Linked DNA regions of Homo sapiens: region 1 is linked to region 2. Evidence: promoter capture Hi-C in 16 types of primary human blood cells and fetal thymus (Javierre and others, 2016). All regions are on one chromosome and are shown on one strand. Each heading gives the region's core, a stretch centred on a gene start or on the middle of the fragment in contact. The rest is flanking DNA. Distances are from core to core; before and after follow the strand shown.

Region 1 (6,525 bases), core at 3,464-5,963, 1.4 Mb after region 2:
CCAGATAAGCAAATGCACACTTCGCCTCCCAGTGAAAACATCATCCCCAACAAACATCATGTGGGCCTGAGTCACTCTCTGGAGAATCTGCTTCTCAGAGTTTGGTTTGGCAGTTCAGGCAGATATAATCCTTCCTTTCATTTTCCCCTGCCCTTTTGAAGAGCAATAATTTTCAGTCCCCTCACACCAAGGGCACTTTGAGAGATGGCCTACAGCTACACGGAGGAAGTTTCTTTGGCACAGCCTTTTGGGAGCTGTGAATATTTGAGGCTGTCTCAAATGGGGACTGTGTCCTTTGAATGAAGTGTTACACAGATGTGTGAGTGAATCCATGGGAACAGAGGCAGATGTTAGGGAGTTAGAGAATTCTGAGCTCTGTGGGCCGTGTCAGTCTGAAGAAAGGCAAGACGGCTGTTAGGTGCAGCCTGTAAGTGCTGTTCATCGAACTGGCCTCAATTCGTCTGCGCTTGGAAATAACTGAAATTGTCTGACCACTAAAAGTGTGATACAACTTGGAAGAGGGGCAGGAGAATACATTTTACTGGGGGCCATAGATCTGGCTTGGGCAAGCAATCTGTGTGTATTCAGATCCTGCATGTTTCTGAAAGATGATAGATGGATAATCGAAGCACACTTCTGCAGAATTTTTTTCTAGAGTATTTCAGTCCAAAAGAGCGCTAATGTGAGCTACATAGCTCATTTTACATATTACATTATATTACACATTAAAAAAAAGGTGAAATTATTTAATAGTATTTTTCATTAAATGCAATATCTCAAAAATATCACTTCAACATGTAATCAATATAAAGTTAGTATTGAGATATTTTACATTTTTTGCCCCTTCCCATATATTCAATAGCTGGTGTGTATTTCATTCTCAGAGCTCATCTCAGCTTGGACCAGACACATTTCGAGTGCTTGGTAGCCTCAGTGACCAGTGGCTGCTTCACTGGAGAGTACCAGTTCCAGATCATCTGGGTGCGTGTACAAAGTCACTAACAGATTTCCTCCCACATTTCTGTGAAGGTCTATGAAATTTTAAGTATCATAGGAAAGATTGAAGAAAATAGGTTCTAAAGCAGATGTATATTTTGAACACTGCCATTTTAGCTCTGAGGCTTCAAGCCATGATTAAGGAATATGTGACCTTTGAAAGAAGTAGGTGATGCCTTTTATAGATTTTATTCCATTTAAAAATATATTTTTAATTATAAAAATGAATCCATACTTACTATAGAATACTCAATACAAGGTCTAGAAAATAACAAAAATCATCTAGAATCCCACCATCTATAGCTAATCACCTTTTGAAGTTTTGGAGTATTGCTGTTCTCGTATGTGGATCGGTTTCATAGTTGTCATTATACTGCAAATGCCCTTGTATATCTTGCTTTTGTTCACAGTGTTATATCACAAGTATCTGTATTTGTTGTTAAAAGCTCTTCATAAGAATAATTTTGATCATCTGGATGATTCATCATATGGCTGAGCCATGGTTTACTGAAGTCAGTGACTTTGGTAGGGTAGTAGTTGCAGTAAGCTCACTAAATGTGACAAGAACAAAAAAGTTATTTTATTGAAAAGTCACCCTACTGTGTGGCCATCCTCATCCCTCATATTGGCGGCCTTCCTTCCATGACTCTAGACAGCTCCGGGAAACCAGAGCCCTTCTACTCTTAAGCTTATTTTTTAGAAAAAATATCTTAGAAAATAATCTCCCTTTCCCCACCTAATCAATCCAGATGTTTAATTACCACGTTGACACAATTGGATTATGACTTCAGGGCAAAAAGCAACTTTACTAAAGAGAATTTGAATGGAAAACAAGAGCATTTTAAAGATCCTCATACAGCAGTTTATTTCTCTTGTTAAATTCATGTCCCTCAAGATATCACAGTACCCACTAGGTACAGATACTGGGCCGCCCTTTGTTAAATCGTAGTTGGATTTATTTTTGCTTCCCTTTTTGGCCCTCTTTCTCACCATTTGTCATTTTCACAGGCTTTAGTGACATAAATCTTGTGGAATGTTGGCTATGCACATAGCATGAAGGATTCAACCTCTCCCATTTCAGGCTGGTTGGCCAATGTAAGCAACTGAGGGTGGCAGAGATCAGGGACAGATAAGACAGGGAGAAGAAGGGGTAGAGGGACTTTGGAAAGAATACCTGAAGTACGAAAGTGACACCTTTAAGGTTAAGGGTGATGGCAATTGACTGATGATTACCAGGTAACAATGGAGTCCACTGGAAGCTGCATAACCATGAACTGTTATGATTATTTTTTCCTATCTATGTGGAAAGGCCTGGTTTGCTTCTCTGCACACAGTCCTGATTCAGTGTGGTGCCCGCATATTGTAAATGTCTTATCCAAGAATCCAGGGACCTGGCCCTGAAGGAAAAGCTGAGGACAGAGTATTTCTGCAACAGGCCTAGGCTCTTGCAAACTTGCCTTCCCAAAGCTCCAAGCCCAACTGGCCTGCAGGGGAGGCGGTCTCGCTGACAACCTGCCCTTTGGCCTTATACCTTCTGTCACAAAAGAGCCATTTTTCCTGAATTTGAAATTGAAGAATTTGATGGCACACGAGTGCTGGGGGGATTTTATTAAGCTGATAAATATGACTACAATTTACTTAAAACCAGTGGCTCTTCTCACTGTCAATGTTGTGGAGTTTATGCCTTTTTCTCTCAAGCTCTCTTTGGCCCAAGCAATTCAGGGCAGAGAGTTTGAAGGGTATTTTGTTTCTGATGTGGGCAGTCTGAAAAATAGTGGACCTTTTAACATTGCACTGACAGACACTCTCAGGGCTAATATAATTGATGTATTCATAGGAGCTTAAGCAAAATAGCTTTCCAAAAGGGAGAAAAACTTGTCTTTTCACCTAAGCACTGACCGATTTGTGGTTTGGATGCTTACACGAGATATTAAACAGACCCGATGGAAAAGGCTTGTTTGCCTCAAGTCTGACTTTCCCTCCTCTTGTAATTTTTGGCCTTGAGTCAAATTTTTGTCCATTCCCCTGCACTCCTTGGGTTGAGGCCAGCACAACGGGCTTGCACTCTCCATGGTGTTGACAGAGTGTTTTTCAGCTGTACCAAAGGCCACAGATTTTCTGTCAGACTTCAAGATACACAGCCTGATAAACATGTCTGCCTCTGGCGATTGGCAGCATTCTTTCTGGAAAAGAAAACAAAAATTGTTTTATATCAATAAGGAAAGTGGTATGAATAGCATAGAATAACACAACTTGGAAGGTGTGCCTGAGGCCTGAGCTTTTTTGCAGTATGTTTAGCTCTTCAGTTCAATTTATTTTTGAGTTCTGTCTTCACCCCACCAGCATCTGATTACTTTCATCAGCCATATGTGTCTGGTTGTGTAACAAATAAACAAATCAACAACCGATTTGTTTGGAAGGTTGGTTGGTGGTAAATGACTCCAGAATGGTGTTTGGAAAAAGTATTTTGGCTTTCTGTAGATATTTTATTTTTCATATGGGATGAAATGGCTGATTTTCGTTAACTCTCTTGTTCACTACAATTTAAAGAAACTGCATGATGTTTCTTCTCTCTGATATTTTCTAGTTGAGTTTTTTTCCCATCACTTTATTCTCTTGGCCATGTGTCAGGTCACCAAATTGGGAAATCAGCCCATGTGGATGACACAAAACTCAACTCTGTGTTACCTGGAAATCTCATCTTTGTAGAGCTGTAGCCAGCTCGGTGCAGATTCCCACAATCAGAGGACTGGATAGCTTCTTCTGACAATTTCTTGCAATCAGAGGGGATTCTTGCTTTGCCATCTTGACTTCAACGTTGACTGTTGGAAAGGAAGAGGGAGGAACACATCCTCAGAGTCAGCACCCTCTTTCTAAAGCTGCTTTGCCATTGAGCAGATGCCCTGGAAGCCTGAAGGGAAGGCTGACTTCTTCAGGTTGAACTTCCCTTTGGAAGATTGATTAAATGCTGATGATCTCTTCAGCAAGCCCATGTGGACCCAATGGCTCAAAGCCAGCCTCAGAACCTCTCCAGTGCAGGCTGCTGGCCGGATTGTACCACCTCACCTGGATGCCGGCTGCTCAAAGGCAGACGAGGCTCATGATGCCTGCTCTTGGGAGTTCCTCAGTGGCACTCAACATTAATTACCTCTCCCCCAGGCCCTTCTGCAAAGTCCAGTGCCAGATCTCTGATGTCACTGCAGGACTATGATTAAACACCAGCTCCAGATCAGCCCAGTGACAGGGAGGGTCATCAGTAATGGATTTGAAAGGGGCTTCAAGGCCCAGGGTAATATGTTATTCATTACCAATGTCGGCTGAGGAGCTGTGAACCTGTCTGTTGGTTGGTAGCGCTTTATATGACACCTCCCCAGGGTCAGTTTCTGTTTGATGAGTGGGAGTGTGCTGTAAACATGTGATGTTAGTATCTTATCAGGTAGCAGAGCTGAGTAGAGATGAAATAGTTCAGCAGTCTTAAGCAGCTTTAGAGAGCTGCCTCAGAAATAAAAATTGTTCCTTCATAGACATAGTAATTCATACATACATACTTATACACACATATATGCATGTGTATACATACATACATATGCATATTGTATGTTTGGGGATGAGCTCTGAATTTAGGACATCTTGACAAGCTTTTCTGTGCAGCTATTCTGCTTGCAGAGGGCAGGGTTCCTAACCTGGGGTGCATGTTTGATGGCCCATGGATGGGCCTGGACAAGGTCTGAGAACCTCTATGATTGTAAGTAAATTTTTGCATGGAAGGCTAAGTTACTTACCCTCTCCAAGCTTTTTCAGTCATCTATAAGATGGAGAAAATAATATCTGCCGCATTGGGTTAGGGTGAGGACTAAATAAGAAAATGCACTTAAAGCACTTAACACAACCTGTGGCCCCAAAGTGCTCTCTCAATATTAGATGTTATTATTACACTTGTTGTGTTAATAAGATATACCTTTGTGAATTTTAATTGGATCTGGGAGCCACAGATTTTTACCAGATTTGCAGAGGAAACTTTGAACCAAACAGGTTAGGAACTGCTGTCTTTGATAGCTAGAATCACTGGAGAATAAATCTCTTGCAGAGTCAAACTCACTTTGTCAGAAATGGAAGATGAAGACATGTGATTTGTGAGGTTGACCAATCTGGGGAAATTCCTGTGGTCCCCAGGAAGCTGGAAGACCCTGCCAAGTTTTATGTCACTGCTGTTTTTCTTCTACCTTCTATTAGTTGAAAAAAAGTCTTTTCTCACTCTCTTCACATTTTTTTTCTCTGAATAAAGCCTATGGGGTATAGCCATCTCATCTGTACACACACAAAGCCTGTATTCCCACGTTTCACATTCTTTTGGTGTTTTGGTTATTGTTATAATAACAATACCCTGTTACCACTCAGTCTCAGTTTATAATTATAAGATAAAAATTTCAATTGAAACCTGCAGCTTTTCGTGTGACATAAGTAAACATTGCTATTTCCATTTTACAGATTTGTGAGCTGATCCAGAGAAGGGCAAACTTTTAATACACATTCCAATTCAGAAATAATAACTCTCAATTCAGATTATGCCAAACCCATGCACCGCAGAAAACATCACAAAGACTTCCTGCAGTCCAGTGGCCCCTGGAATCGATTTACCACAAACCCTGTTGGGAAGGAAGTATCTTCCTCCTGTCATAAATCCTCAGACCCTGTAGATATGACTGAATGACTGAAACTACATGCCTGATAATCGCCATGATTTTTCACATAGCAATGAAGAGCAATAGCTGTGAAAGTTACAGAACACCGAATTACATGTAGTAAAAATAGACAGTCAAGCCCTTCATCTAAAAATTGACTTAACTGCTTGAGGAAAGAGATGGCTATAAAGTTAAATGGTGTAATTTCATGTATGGAAATGGCTGTCCTTTCTTATATTTAAAATTTACCTTAGGACATAATTACCTCTGCACAAAGCCAGTTTCTAAATGGGAAACATTCCTCCAACAGGATGTTCTTTCCATCTCTTGGGGGCCCCCATGGAATAGCGCTACTCAGCGATCTAGGGGAGAAAGTGTCAGTGCTCAGAAGCAAACTTCCTCAATGAAAGTCTCACTGGAAACTGGCCTCATCCATCATTATCTGTTCTCATCCCAAGGCAGCATGCCGGCTTTCCATCCTATGGAATTTGGTGGGAAATCTCCTCTGAGAGGATGCTGTAGAGGGTGAGAAAAATGACCCAGTGTGCAGAGGGCCCTCTGCTGGAGCTGCCGAGGAGGAGACCAGAGGAACCATTGTTTGGCCATCTTCTAGCTGACTTTAGATCCATGGCTGCTCTGAATGTAGGAACCTACTGTGTACAAGCAAGATGATAATTCAAGATCATTGTGCAAATGGCGTTCTGTTTTCCTATCTGCAGTAACATAGTTTCTCCCCGGAATTCAGCTCATTAAGGCTTTCTTTGATCTACTCCTGTTCATAAACTCCATAGAAAAGTCTGACATTGAATTTTTGTCTGAATTTTTCTTTTTATCAAGGAAGCCAAGG
Region 2 (6,721 bases), core at 4,080-6,579:
CTGGTTTCCTGTTTTGTTGCGGGCGTAAGCATCAAGCTAGGGTGGGGTGGGCGCTCGCGGGTAAAATTCCTTTGGGCCAGTGGCAGCGTCGGGTACAGAGACCCCTCGTCCTTTTCCCGTCGCAGCCGCACGGAATTCTCCGGGCCGTCCCGCGCTCGCCCAGCGCCCCGGCTGAGTGACCCGCAGGTCACTTCCTGGGTGGCACGGGCCCCTGCAGTCCAGCAAGCCGGTGTCCCCCGCGGGCTGGCCGCGCACTGCGAGAAGGCGTTTCCTCCTTCCAGCCGAGCCCTTCACCAAGCTCCCTCTGCTTCTAACGCATGCTCCGGTCCTTTCCGCGAAGGCTGTTTCCAGCTCCAGTGAAGAGCGATCAGTGGCACTGTCGGGGAAAAGAGCTCTTCCACCACCACGGCCGCTGCCGCGGCTGCCGCCGGCTTCGGAGTCACTTAGGCCTCCCAGAGCCGAGTTTTGGAGGACGGAGTTTGCGCCAGCTCTGAGGAGTCCGGGCGCGGCTGGCCAAGGCTCTGCAGTGGGAGATGCTCCTCATGGGAGTCTGGAACCTGGTTGTTCTGAAATGGTGTGTGTGGGGTGGAGGTCTCCTTGCTCAGGGACTCTCTGGGGGAAACAAGGCAGGGCTGTACTCAAATTGGAGTTTTCCTTGGGCTCCTGCCGTCTTTTCTGAGTCCCTGTGCACTAGTGGCTTTGTGGTACCTGAAAAAACAAAACAAAACAAAAAACTCTACAGGCAGCAGGAGAGCTGCTCCTCCAAAAACCTGCTGTCCTTGAGATCCACCCCATGAAGGGATCTTAAAGGCAAAGTGGGGGTCCCTGTAGATCTTCCTGGACCTTGCACTTCCACTTTCACCATGTTAACATTTGGTCACCACAGTGACAATAGCCCAAAACTATCCCACAGCCTCAAGCCTTTTACTGCCTTATTATTGTTTCAAATGCACAAAAATCTGGAACAAAAGGTTGAGTGAGTGACTCGATGCACCATTTCCCTGTCCGCTGGCCAACTTCAGCCCAGATCTCAGGACCTACCAACCCTTTCCCCTTAAGAAAGAGGGTACAGCTTCTACCTGATGGGGACACTCAAAATTCCCTCCATAAGCAGAGCAGTCCCCCACTTGCTCCTTTCCCAAATGATCTGCTCAAGTTTGGCTTCAGAGGTGCTACACTGTTTGACGATTTCGTCTTTTCTCTTTCTCTCTCCTCAGCCCCTCAACCAGTTTTTCCTCTGGATCTTTCTTCCTTTGCCATTATCTCTGTGCCCCAGCCCACCTAGGGTGGGAGAGAGAGGGTTAAGATGTTCTGCAAAAGTGGCTTGTAAAGCTGCTTGGATACATTAAAAGCACATGAATATCCTGAAATACAAAGTGTCTTTAGAATCAACCAAGGAATGTTTATCCTAGTGCTGGATGGATGCAAAGAAATAGTGCCAGGGAGCAGTGCTGACAGCCTCCTCAGAGTTAAAGTGAGAGCAGGTAAATTTCATTTGCTAATGAAAATCAAGCTCGATTAAAACCTGGTTTCCCTTTTTCCTTTTCTTCTCCAATGCTGGGAGCCCAGAGCCGCGTGGACCAGGCTGGCATCCAGTTCCCCACCCAGAAAAACCTAGCTGCGGTTTTTTTCTTCAGTGAGAGGTTTTTGGGCAACCAGTCCCTGCAGGGCACCCTGGCCTACCCCAGGAAGTAAGAAGCCTTGTCAGCCAAGGCATTTTGGAACACTGAGAAAGGCTCTGGTGATTCCTGAAATAAAGGCCGTGCTGCAGAAACTACCCTCCGGTCCTGCCTGCACTGCCCTCTCAGGGCTCCTCCGGGGAAATCAGTGCACCAGACAGTACCTGGGAAGTGACTGCAGCCTCTCCCACCTCTCCCACCTCTACTCATGCAGCCCTCTGCTTGGCTGTCATGCCTAAGGTGCCACCGCTGCCGGCCGATCCTAGTGGGTGCCCTGGCTTCCCCAGTCTAACCCAGGAGGAGCCTGAGAATATAAAATTATCAGGTTGAAGGTGCCTCTGCAATCCTATAGGAATTCCTGAGCCTGGAGAACAAAAAATCAGAGGGACAGACAGCTCAGAAGATCAGGACCCACTACCTTGGCAGGCAAGCAAATCTTGACCTTGCCGTTGGGAAAAGAGGAAAAATGCTAGGAGGGTCTGTGCTTGCTTCCCAGAGCACACCCGTCTCAATCGTCCTCCAAACTTTCTTTTGCCACAGCAAGTCAGTTTGTTGGCTGCCTGGCAGGGAAAGAAATCATATTGGGAAACATTAATAAATATCTTATCTCCCTTAGCAGAAGACAGGGAAGGAAGATTATTCTTGCTTAAAAGTGAGTAGAAATTCTGAAACTCAGACCCAAATTATTCAGAGCTCGTTCTCCTTCTATAAACGACCTCCACTGATTGGTGGCTACAACTCAATACTGACAGGACATGCAGACATTTGAAAACAGTGGGGCATGCCAGGACGCCATGGACATGTCTGGTAGAAAAATAAGATACATGTTGAGATCCAAGACAAGAAGAGAACAAGCAGGGTGCCTTCCTCTAAATAAGCATGTCTTGAGAGGGGTTTTTTTTTTTTTTTTTTTTTTTTAATGATAGGGACACATCGGGGAACTAAAAAAAGTCCAGATAAATTTGATCAATAAGGTGCACCATAAATCTCAAGAATTCAGTCCCCAAGCTTTTTCTTGGCGAGAGCGCCACATTTAAGGAGCAAAGCTTAATTTGAGATGCAATCCAAAGCCTTCCCCCAGCACCATCCCTCTCAGACAAACCTGCTTGTGGCTCCTCGGCCGACAGATGAAATCTTGTCTCACCATTTTTGGTGAGGAGGGACCCAGTCGTCTGTGGAGCTGAGACCCTTTCTCTGCGCGCAGGGTTCGGGGCTACGGTGAAGTGGGAGGGGGAGGGAAGAATGTGGAGCTGGCCTTGGCCGCCGTGTGCACCGGCAGCTGCGCCATGGCCAGAGGTGAGCTGGCACAGGCGCCGGCTAGTGGGGGCTCCCCAAGCTGTGTTTTCGTTTTTCCGGGTCTGGCCGGAAAACCGAAGAGGCTCAAAGCCCTGGCTGAGCAGGGCGGAGGCAGAGAAGAGTCGGTAAACACCGCCCCAAAAACCCCACGAAGGCACCAAAAAATTCTGGGCAGCCGAACAGAGTCAGAGGCGAGAATTTTAAAAAGAGAGAGAAAATTAAGAGTGAGGGGATGTGGGCAATGGGCCTTTTGCTGCTGCCTGTGTCTCTACGCTCGCATGGCAGTTCTCATGCTGGCTGGACTGCAACTTTCAACTTGACCTTGGCCTCCAGCCGTGTCTGACCAGTATGTAAAACCGCCTTCAAGTCCCCAGGAACAGGGGCCTAGAACCCTACTCTGTCTCTTTGTCACTGTGAGTTTTACAATGCCACTTGGAGGGAGGAAGGGGGGTGGTGAAACGGCCAGAAAGTAACAGAAAAATCAAGTCCCTACAGAGGCTAGTTCCTGAGTCTGCAAATGGCCAGTCAGGGAGAAGGTAAACTGGGGGCAAATCAATATTTACCCAGAACTGCTAAAAAGTCAAGAAGGAAAGGGCACACTTGGTGGGGGGGTGGCTGGTGTGGGGGTCATAGAAGGTTTTATTGGGCGACACTTACATTGGTCAGGACAAATCCAGGATCAGGACAGATAAAAGCCCAAGCCCAGCCACATTGGTCTGGATCCTGCAGGAAGCCCAGGGGCCTTAGACAGCAGATGGTGGGGTGTGTGTGAGGGGTGGTATGCGTGCTGCTCTGAGTTTAGGGCTGAGTGTGCAAGCTAGGAGCAGAGGACAGGTCCAAGCCTGGCTTCTCACCAGTCCGCCTGGGGTGGAAAAGAATCCAGCACTCTCCCCAGCACTATTCCGGTAATGTGCCCACTTTCACTTTGAACGCTTGTTCCTCTTCTAGGCATCTGACCAGCTCACAGTAGTGAATCAGGAAGTGGAAGTATGTGGCTCTAAAGCAGCAGGACCCCCAGAACCCCTCGACAAAACATGGCAGCTACAAGACGGGTCGCTGCTTGGTTCTTCAGCACCAACACCCTACCATGCTCCCAAGAAAAGGTTGCATTTCCCAGGCACAGAGGAAAGGCTTCTTGGACTGGTTCTTGGGCAAAGAAGGACTAGGCACCCTCTGCAGGCTGGAGATCCTACTTGAGGGGAAGGCAGGAAGTGGCCCCAAAGAGCCCCTTTTTCTTGTCCCAAAATAGAGTGAAATAGCGGGTTCCCAGATTCCTGGAGAGTCAGGTCCGGTCCACAAAGAAGCGTGGCTTTAGGGCCCAGAAGGGGGGTTTAAGTCCCAGCCAGAAGCACAGCTGGGGCTTGTTCCTCTTAAGCCCCTTCCAGAACTAAGCCAGCCATACTGGCGAGGTGGGAGCATGGATGAATGGTGCACAGGGATCGCTCGCTCTATCTCAAAGTCTCTGGAGGAGGAAGCGTTGTTACCAGGTCAGAGCAAGGATCAGGCTGTATACCTAAGTGTGCGAATGTGAGTGTGTCAGTGTACACTGTGTGTGTGTGTGATGAGTCGTTCTGAGTCTATGGGTCTAAATGCAAACATATGAAATTGCTCACTAACAGTGTGGACAGGGAAGGGATAGGGGCTCCTAAATGCAGTCCAAGCCTCCAGTGGAATGTCCTGGGACCCAGGCATATCCGCAGGAACCGATAAGCAGCAAACACCCTGCCACTGTTTCCCTGGAAAGAGCAAAATCGCAACTCCATCGAAGCCGAAGGCGCCGATGTCCGTCCTGTGGTCTCACTGCAGAAATACGCGCCGGTTCCTGGAAAGAAAACAGTCCCAGAGGCTCCAAGAAACACCCATTCTGAGCTAGGCTGGTCCCGTCCTCCCCACTCTCCCATCCCTGACCGCCGGCAGAATTACCTGACCTGTCCCCACTGCTCCAGATCGCAACCCAATCGCGCGCCCACCTCCCCTCCCCGCCTGGTTGCGCGGGTCTGGGCCCCACTGGGATAAAGGAAGGGAAGGGGGGCGGAGATGGGGCCGCCTTCCTTCCCTGCCCCACCCGCACGTTCCTCCGCCTCTCCCCCGGGTGAATGGTGCGCGGCCGCGCGGCTGGCGCTGGGGACGGCGCGGGCCGCGGCGGGGACGACGGGTGCACCGTGCAGAGCTGGAGTCGGAGCCGCCCGCTTTGCATACGCCGTGGGCGGAGCGGGGGGGCCGGGCCAATGGGCGGCCGCCTGGCGCGACCCCGCGGGGCGCGATCCGCCCCCCTCGCTCGGGCCCCGGCCCCGCGCCGCGCGCTCTTCACTTCTTGGGGGCTTTTTAAAACAGCGCCACTGGGGTCTTCTCCATGCGGCTCGGGCTATGACAGCCTCCGTGCTCCTCCACCCCCGCTGGATCGAGCCCACCGTCATGTTTCTCTACGACAACGGCGGCGGCCTGGTGGCCGACGAGCTCAACAAGAACATGGAAGGGGCGGCGGCGGCTGCAGCAGCGGCTGCAGCGGCGGCGGCTGCCGGGGCCGGGGGCGGGGGCTTCCCCCACCCGGCGGCTGCGGCGGCAGGGGGCAACTTCTCGGTGGCGGCGGCGGCCGCGGCTGCGGCGGCGGCCGCGGCCAACCAGTGCCGCAACCTGATGGCGCACCCGGCGCCCTTGGCGCCAGGAGCCGCGTCCGCCTACAGCAGCGCCCCCGGGGAGGCGCCCCCGTCGGCTGCCGCCGCTGCTGCCGCGGCTGCCGCTGCAGCCGCCGCCGCCGCCGCCGCGTCGTCCTCGGGAGGTCCCGGCCCGGCGGGCCCGGCGGGCGCAGAGGCCGCCAAGCAATGCAGCCCCTGCTCGGCAGCGGCGCAGAGCTCGTCGGGGCCCGCGGCGCTGCCCTATGGCTACTTCGGCAGCGGCTACTACCCGTGCGCCCGCATGGGCCCGCACCCCAACGCCATCAAGTCGTGCGCGCAGCCCGCCTCGGCCGCCGCCGCCGCCGCCTTCGCGGACAAGTACATGGATACCGCCGGCCCAGCTGCCGAGGAGTTCAGCTCCCGCGCTAAGGAGTTCGCCTTCTACCACCAGGGCTACGCAGCCGGGCCTTACCACCACCATCAGCCCATGCCTGGCTACCTGGATATGCCAGTGGTGCCGGGCCTCGGGGGCCCCGGCGAGTCGCGCCACGAACCCTTGGGTCTTCCCATGGAAAGCTACCAGCCCTGGGCGCTGCCCAACGGCTGGAACGGCCAAATGTACTGCCCCAAAGAGCAGGCGCAGCCTCCCCACCTCTGGAAGTCCACTCTGCCCGGTAAATGACGACCTATTCCCAGCCCTGGTCTTCCGGCTCTGCTCCAGCTTCTTCTCCGCTCGCACCCGGGCGATCCCGGGTGCGTTTCTGTTCTCTTCCTGGTCTGCCCTAGCGGCTCTGCACCCCTGGGAGCCCGAGCATGGCTGGCTGGGTCTGCCTGCACTGCCTCGAGTTGAGCTGGTCCCTGGCTCTCCCTGGGTGAGGGGTGGCTTGTGGAGACCTCGGCTAGCTTCCCTCTCCCTCTGCGCCCCGCCCTCCCCAGCCCCTGACACCAATTTAAGGATGAGAAATTGACCAGAAAACAGCTCCCCAAATTGCCCCTCCCTATTCATTCTCTCAAAAATGGCTTCAGTGTAGAAGCTTCGAGTATTGGGACGGGCACCCAGAAAGGAGGCAGGCACAGAAGTGTTGTACCTTGAGCCTGGCGCTAAGGTGTGGGCCGTTGGACCAGGCTATC

Evidence for each region. The method cuts DNA at HindIII sites, captures the fragments that hold promoters and counts their contacts. A CHiCAGO score of 5 or more calls a contact.
Region 1: a contact is called between a fragment that was not itself captured here and the fragment with the promoter of HOXA13 in region 2, in 3 of 17 cell types (total B cells, naive B cells and total CD4 T cells). The highest score is 13.0, in total B cells.

What each region holds. Positions count from the first base shown.
Region 1 is chr7:25,843,382-25,849,906 of GRCh38, reverse strand. No RefSeq gene overlaps it. Among named protein-coding and RNA genes, the nearest start is that of LINC03007, 57 kb to the right of the region's middle. The HindIII fragment of the contact is 154 bases long and covers 4,637-4,790 here.
Region 2 is chr7:27,198,699-27,205,419 of GRCh38, reverse strand. It overlaps HOXA13 (homeobox A13), which reads left to right and starts at 5,329. Exons shown (of 2, transcript NM_000522.5): 1 at 5,329-6,264. The coding sequence starts at 5,343. It overlaps HOTTIP (HOXA distal transcript antisense RNA), which reads right to left and starts at 4,999. Exons shown (of 3, transcript NR_037843.3): 1 at 4,899-4,999; 2 at 2,782-4,797; 3 at 1-708. RefSeq lists enhancers at 1-238, 239-963, 2,458-2,982. The HindIII fragment of the contact is 3,899 bases long and covers 2,728-6,626 here.